Regions from separate parts of the Homo sapiens genome. Here region 1 is linked to region 2. The links are contacts of gene promoters, found by promoter capture Hi-C in blood cells and fetal thymus (Javierre and others, 2016). All regions are on one chromosome and are shown on one strand. Each heading gives the region's core, a stretch centred on a gene start or on the middle of the fragment in contact. The rest is flanking DNA. Distances are from core to core; before and after follow the strand shown. Region 1 holds the start of RPS13 (ribosomal protein S13). Region 2 holds the start of SVIP (small VCP interacting protein).

Region 1 (3,888 bases), core at 1,284-3,783, 5.8 Mb after region 2:
AGGAGTAAGTGCGGTTAGAGCGTTTAGAATCGGGGGATAGTGGCAAGACGTGGGTCCAGGGATTGGATCTTAGGTGCATTGAGAAAGTATGGGAGGGATTTACACAGGGGAGCAATGAATTAATCTGCTTTATGTATTTAATGGATCACTCTGACTGCTAGGTGGAGAGTGGGTTGTGTTTAGAGTGGGGACGTGACCAGACGGTGTGGATACTACAGAGTTGCCCAGATAGGAGGTGATGGTGGCTGGGACTGAAGGTGGAAATGGGGCAAAGGGAACATATTCATGATACATTCTTGTGGTAGAGCTGGGATGACAGAGGGAAATCAGAGAAAAACGGAGATGCCTAGGTTTGTATTAAGTTTGAGCAAACAGGATCGTGTTTAACTGAAACAAAGGGGCATGGTTTGGGAATTGGAGTCATATTAAATTTGAGATACCTATTCCATATCTGAACTAAAAATGTAAAATTGGCTAATGATAAACTTTGCTAGAAAAAAACATTACCCAAATAGGGTACCCGATTTGACTAAAATTCCTAATGCTTTGGGAAAAGTTATTAATCAAATAGTGACAGATTATGGCTTTTTTGGGGGGGAGGGGTGTTGTTTTCTTGGAGAACTGACCCGTTTGTTGTTATAAAGGGTTCTCTCTTTATCCCTGATACTTTTTTTTTGAGACGGAGTCTCGCTCTGCCACCTAGGCTGGAGTGCAGTGGTGCGATCGTGGCTTACTGCAAGCTCCGCCTCCCGGGTTCACGCCATTCTCCTGCCTCAGCCTCCTGAGTAGCTGGGACTACAGGCGCCCGCCACCACGCCCGTCTAATTTTTTTGTATTTTTAGTAGAGACGGGGTTTCACCGTGTTAGCCAGGATGGTCTCGATCTCTTGATCTCGTGATCCGCCCGCCTCAGCCTCCCAAAGTGCTGGGATTACAGGCGTGAGCCACCGCGCCCGGCTATCCCTGATAACTTTATTTCAAATAGTGACAGGTTAAAAGTTAAGAGCGGATGTTTCAGTATCTAGTTTCCCAGCGTCTTGCCAGTTACTTTAAGCTTGTCGACAGGAGTTTGATTTCACTGACCTCCCTCCTTCCTAGAGCTATGCTTACTTTTTAAAATTTTAAGAAGCTGCTTCATTTGCCCATTCTTTCAACGCATTGTTGTGTACCGGCACTGAGTCAGTCTTTTTCTTTCTTTCCTTTTTTTTTTTTTTTTTTAAGACAGAGTCTTGCTCTGTTGCCCAGGCTGGCGCGCAGTGGTGCTATCTCGGCTCACCGCAATGTCCTTCCCGGCTCCAGAGATTCTCCACCTCAGCCTCCTTCGTAGCTGGAACCAAAGGCACGAGCGAGCACGCCCGGCTAATTCTTTGTATTTATAGAGAGGGGGTTTCGCCATGTTGCCCAGGCTAGGTCTGTCTTAAAAGAGCTTCTTCCGGCCAGGCGCGGTGGCTCACGCCTGTAATCCCAGCACTTTGGGAGGCCGAGGCGGGCGGATCACCTGAGGTCGGGAATTTAAGACCAGCCTGACCAACATGGAAAAACCCGTCTCTACTAAAAATACAAAATTAGCTGGAAGTGGTGGCGCATGCCTGTGATCCCAGCTATTCAGGAGGCTGAGGCAGGAGAATCGCTTGAAGCCGGGAGGCGGAGGGTGCGGCAAGCCGAGATCGCGCCATTGCACTCCAGCCTGCGAATCAAGAGCGAAACTCCGTCTCAAAAAAAAAAAAAAGCTTCTTCCTTGACGGTTCCCTTTTCCCATGAAATTCAAATGCTTCATTTTATCCCTCATCCTCTTGGCCTTTGCAGTCTTGCTCCCAAGGCTCTTCCCTGCCCGCCAACTCTCTCACTTGGGAACATAGCTCCGTAAGCCTCTGCCCAACCCTTCTCCCCGGCGAGCCCAGCGCCCCAGAGCCCTGCGCAGGGGAATTCGAGTGCGGAGGGCGGCAGGCATCCGTGGGGACCTGGTTCAACTCCTTAGACCGGTTCTTCACCGTCAGCGACTCTCCCCTGACAGATTAGGGTAGGATTTAGAAATGAGAAATGGAAGCGCTGGCTGGGCGGTAGCCGCTGCCATGGCTTCCCGTGTGGTCCTCATCACATGCTATTGTATCTGTTAATTTATTAGGCGCAGGGCCGACTCTGAGGGATCTAGTGCCAGGACAAAGCCAGGCACTGGTGAATGAGCAAACACCTGTGTATGGCTGCTTCTTCCAGCCCTACCTGCTCCATACCCACCCCCAGCGCAGCATTCGAATCTTTGTGATCTCGGCGTCCACAGGGAATTTCGACGCAAGCTGGCGTCAGCCTCAAATTCCCGCTCTGGCAACAAGGCTGACCAAAGACCGATGCATGCCGGGATGAGGCTGGATTGACGATCTCTTGCGACGCTGAAATGCATTTCGGGAGATGTAGTCACACAGACGGGCGGTGGCTGCGCAGCGTAGCTCCGCCTCCTGCGTGAGAGGAAGCGGGGACGTGTGAGGTCACTTCCTGCGTGTTGGGTGGCTTCCTGCGGCGTTTCCACTCTCGCTCTCCTTTCGTTGCCTGATCGCCGCCATCATGGGTCGCATGCATGCTCCCGGGTGAGCTCGGGGCATCAAGCCGGATTGCTGGGCGGGGGGTGGGAGGAAGACAGGGAGTGTGGGCAGCGGGCCGAGGGGATGATGTTCTGGGCTGCTCTGGCACTAGCCGCCACCTCACCTCGAGACTGCTTCTCTCCCCAGGAAGGGCCTGTCCCAGTCGGCTTTACCCTATCGACGCAGCGTCCCCACTGTAAGTAGCGCGCTGGGACCGGGGAGAATCCGGGGAGGGGGTTGGCATTTGTCTCGGGTGAAGCGACGCCAGGGTGAGGAACTTGCGTGTATGAGGAGCGCGGTTTTGCGGAAGGAGAGACCGCTGTTCTGCGGCGCCATTCCTGGGTTCTCATCCTAAGGCTGCTTTCTATTCCATAACAGTGGTTGAAGTTGACATCTGACGACGTGAAGGAGCAGATTTACAAACTGGCCAAGAAGGGCCTTACTCCTTCACAGATCGGTGAGTGTTTGTGTCTAACATAGCCTATTTCGCCTGTCCTCGTGTGACTTGTAGGATCTAGTAGGTGGTAAAGTTATTTTAAAAATAGCCAAAACTCTGGTCTCGCCACCGTGCTAGAGGCATCATTGTAAGCACTTCACATGTACTGATTTCGTTTAATTCTGACCACAATACTTTGAAATAAATCTTCATGGCTTTCACCCCAGTTTACAGTTGAGGAAGCAGAGGCACACTGCCGCTGGATACTAACCAGCCCCAAATCACACAGCTGTCAAGTGGAGGAGTTGGAATTGGCTAAGCAGAGTGCCTGACACAGTTCCTCACAGTTAGGTGTGGTTTGAATCTCAGCTGCGTGTGACTTCGTGCAAGTGGCTTCATTCAGCAAATGTTTACCTTCTATGTGCTGAACATGGTTCTGGGGCCTGAGAACATACTACTCTCCGACTCCCCCGCCCAAAAAAGCCAGCCGCAATGTGCCTGTAGTCCCAGATACTTGGGATGCAGAGGTGAGAGGATCACCAGAGCCTAGAAGTCCCAGGCTGCAGTGAGCTATGATGAAGCCACTGCACTCCTGGGTGACAGAGAGACCCCACCTCTTTTTTTTTTTTTTTTTGAGACAGTCTTGCTCTTGTCGCCCAGTCTGGAGTGCAGTGGCGCGATCTCAGCTCACTGCAACCTCCACCTCCTGGATTCAAGCGATTCTCCTGCCTCAGCCTCCCGAATAGGTGGGATTACAGGCGCCCGCCAGCAGGCCCAGCTAATTTGTGTGTTTTTGTTTGAGACCGATTCTCACTTTGTCACCCAGGCTGGAGTGCAGTGGTATGATCTCGGCTCACTGCAACCTCCGCCTCCTGGG
Region 2 (3,517 bases), core at 426-2,925:
GGGATTACAGGCGCCCACCACCATGCCTGGCGAAGTTTTGTATTTTTAATAGAGAAAGGGTTTCCCCACGTTGGTCAGGCTGGTCTTAAACTCCTGACCTCAGGTGATCCACCCACCTTGGCCTCCAAAAGTACAGGAGTAAGCCACCATGCCTGGCCTTTTTTTTTTTTTCATACATTTCAGTGAGACAGAGATAGCGCTTACAATTTCACGTTTTCTAAACACAATGCTAAAGAGGAGGTGGGTAGTTATCTTTCTCTTTTTGCAACAGAGAACCTTCACTTTTTCTTTATATATTTTTATTTACCCTTAGAAACGGCCCATGCAATCGAATAATAGTATTAAAAAAGCATCATCCCCTATTATTTAAGGAATAAACTACTGTTTCATTCAATAACATGGAAGAATTTAGAAAATATTATGGCTTTTGCAAAACATATTGTATATTTCATTTATGTAAAACTTAAAGACTATAGTGATATTAACATTTATGCAAAACTTAAAGACTAAAGTGATATTAAACAAATTAATAGTTTCCTGGATCTAGGTATAGGATAAAGTATTGAATGGGATTGGGTACAATAGAAGGTTTTTGGGTGATGGAAAACTTACATATCTTGAATGTGGTGATCACATGTTTGTTAAAACTCAGTGAACTCTACAATCAAAATAAGTGCATAATATTATATGTAAATTATACATCTATAAAAAATTAACCAGCAAGTATATCAAAAAGCCGACAATGGTTTCTGAGACGCTGTCACTATACATCCTACCTTTTTGTAATGTTTGAAAATTTTTACATAAGCAGAAATAACTAATAGAATGCAAAAATAAAATAAAATAAAATAAAAGCATTTGTGTGGAGACGAGATCAGTAACTTTAGTATCACCTGTGGGTTTACTGGAAATGAATCTCAGGTCCCACCTTATACTTACTAAATCAGCAAGTAAATTTTAACTAGTTGCCCAGCTGATTCTCATACTTATTAAAATTTGAGGAGAATCATTAAAACATTTCTCAGTAGATGAAACTTTATTATTTCTCTCGGAAGGATAAATGACTTCTAAATACCAGAAACTAGTGGAAATGTCAACTAATGCCACATTTATGACGCTAGATTCATCGTCATAATAATGGATTTTATATTCTGCCCTCTGTTCTGGAATAGCACTGTCACTAAGAAGGGAGAAAAGGGTGCTGATGTTTACTTGGAATTTTGGCTTTAATTTCTAGGACACCAGAGTCCCATCTCATAAAAAAAGGTAGCATGAACTACCCAGAGCTGTACCACTCATTCATTTATAAATGGTAAGGCAAGGTTAGCAGGAAGAGCTTTGGAACCGTAGCGAAGCTTTTCCATCCCTTCCCTGCATTGCTACCCACAGCAGGTGTTTCCTGGAACCTAGGCTTTGGCCACAAGCCCAGCGGTCGCGGGGCGGGGGTAGGCGGAGCTGTGGGTGAGGAAGGGGCAATGCCTTAAGGGGGCGCAGCTGAGCTGTGGGACTGGTTGGTGTCGCGAGAAGAGGGGGGCGTTGCCGCAGAGAGGCGAGGCGGGGCAGAGCTGCGGGGTGGGGGCGGGGCGTTGCCGCTGGGGCGGAGCCGAGCCAGTGGAGGGCGGTGGGGGCGGGGCAAGCGCGGAGGACCAGGGACCGGCTCCGGACCGCGCAGTTAGCGCCGCCTGGCCTGGGCCGGACCCGGTCAGGGTTCTCAAGCTGTCGTCCCTATGGGGCTGTGTTTTCCTTGTCCCGGGGAGTCCGCGCCTCCCACGCCGGACCTGGTGAGTAGAGCAGGTCCCTGCGTCCGCCGGGCCGCGCCTTGAGCACCTGTCCTCGGGTTGCGGGGCGGGCCGAGCCATTGTACCTGGTGGCGCAGGTCGAGAGCCCGCTGGGGGACCCTGCTAGCGAGGACGGGTGGACGCGTCAGGAGGGTCGTTGGGTCCTGTCAGAGCGACCTAGGCCGTCGCCTCCGTGTAGATCTCCACTTTTGTAACAAAAAGTTGTCGAAAGGCGGCTGTGGCGTCTTTCTACCTTCCACTGACTTTAGCTGCGCCGGATCTTCATAGGGCGCCGGCGCACGCAGAGGGCGTTACGCGTGGGACATTCCGGGGGATGTGGTAGATGGAATTCGGCGCGAAAAGACATTGCTTTCTCCGGGAGCTCTTTAGTCGTCTAGGAGATGTGCGTTTTCAACTGTGTCTACCATCTTTTAAAAGAAGGTGCTCGGAAAGTCGCTTATACGCCTGAGCTTTATCGGATATGTTTTTTTAATGATTTCTTTTTAGTATTTATCTCATTCTTTTACGTTCTCCCTTTAAAAGAATATGTAGTACAGAGTGTCCAATTTATAATGTCGTATTTAATAAAAATACTGGACACCCAGTTACATTCGAATTTCAGATATACAAGGAATACGTTTATAATATCGTTTTGTGCCATGCAATATTAGGGATCTAGTTCTACAAAAACATTACTCATTGCTTATCTGAAATTCAAATGTAGCTAGTGGGTGTGTGGTACAATACATGTACACTTTTTGTAGCTTTCTGTTAACAGTATCTTTACATTAGTACTCCTTACAGGGAGTTAACATAAACCTGTTTCTCTTCTCTAGCTAAAAATTAGTTGAAGAAAATGAAGTATTTTTGGGAAGTACATTAACTCTTCAGCTACTATAGATACTAAAAATTTAGTACTTATAAATTTGATGTGGGAAAGTTCAGCTTCTCTTTGTTGCTGCTGTTGTTTTAAATTAAGTTGATTTTGTTGTTCTGGCTGTCGATAAAATATAACATGTCAGATTTGTTAAGCCCTCCCCCCCATCCTCATACTATACCCTCTTCCCTTGATAACCACACGGCTCACTGCTTGGATGTCACTTTACCAGTGAAGCTTTTGCTGACCACGTTAAACAAAATATATTCCCCACAATACCACCCACCCATTCTCCCATTACTTATCTGCCATGCCATCTGACAGACGTTTACTTACTTCATTATATTTGTCTGTGCGCCCGCAATTGGAATTTGTTTCATTTGGGAGGAGACATTTATCTATGTTTTTACACTGTTGTATCCCAGCACCTAGAAAAAGGGCTTTATAATAAGTAGTACATGGTCTAGAAAAATAGCATTCACTGTTTTCTGATATGGAACAATACCTCTCATGAAATTACTCCAGTCCTTCCCTCCTACACACTGAGATTAGCCCACTTCATTTATTAACCTTTCCTAAAAACACCAGGTTACTTCAGACTCCATTTTAACCGGCAGTAACAAACCATGTATTTTCCTTTTTGTATTTGTAAACATTATTTGTTTTGTTATTGCCCTGACTAGCTTGTAGGCCTTTTTATTAAAAAAGAGAGTAAATAAATGATTATATAGGTAAACCTTGTATCTGTTTTAGCATGTGCTGATTTGAAGGCATATTGATTAGGAGAATGAAATTCAAAAAGTTGAGTAGTGGCATTCTTTGTGGGACATTTAGGGCCAGTACCGAATATTTTTGTAAATTG

Evidence for each region. The method cuts DNA at HindIII sites, captures the fragments that hold promoters and counts their contacts. A CHiCAGO score of 5 or more calls a contact.
Region 1: the fragment with the promoter of RPS13 here is called in contact with the fragment with the promoter of SVIP in region 2 in 1 of 17 cell types (non-activated CD4 T cells); the score reaches 6.0 in non-activated CD4 T cells.

What each region holds. Positions count from the first base shown.
Region 1 is chr11:17,076,312-17,080,199 of GRCh38, reverse strand. It overlaps RPS13 (ribosomal protein S13), which reads left to right and starts at 2,533. Exons shown (of 6, transcript NM_001017.3): 1 at 2,533-2,581; 2 at 2,723-2,771; 3 at 2,954-3,032. The coding sequence starts at 2,559. RefSeq lists an enhancer at 2,300-2,499. The HindIII fragment of the contact is 8,959 bases long and covers 1,732-3,888 here.
Region 2 is chr11:22,827,959-22,831,475 of GRCh38, reverse strand. SVIP (small VCP interacting protein) reads left to right here and starts at 1,675. Exons shown (of 4, transcript NM_148893.3): 1 at 1,675-1,781. The coding sequence starts at 1,728. LINC02718 (long intergenic non-protein coding RNA 2718) reads right to left here and starts at 2,062. Exons shown (of 11, transcript NR_187210.1): 1 at 1,865-2,062. RefSeq lists a silencer at 1,551-1,620 and an enhancer at 1,771-2,080. The HindIII fragment of the contact is 1,537 bases long and covers 1,358-2,894 here.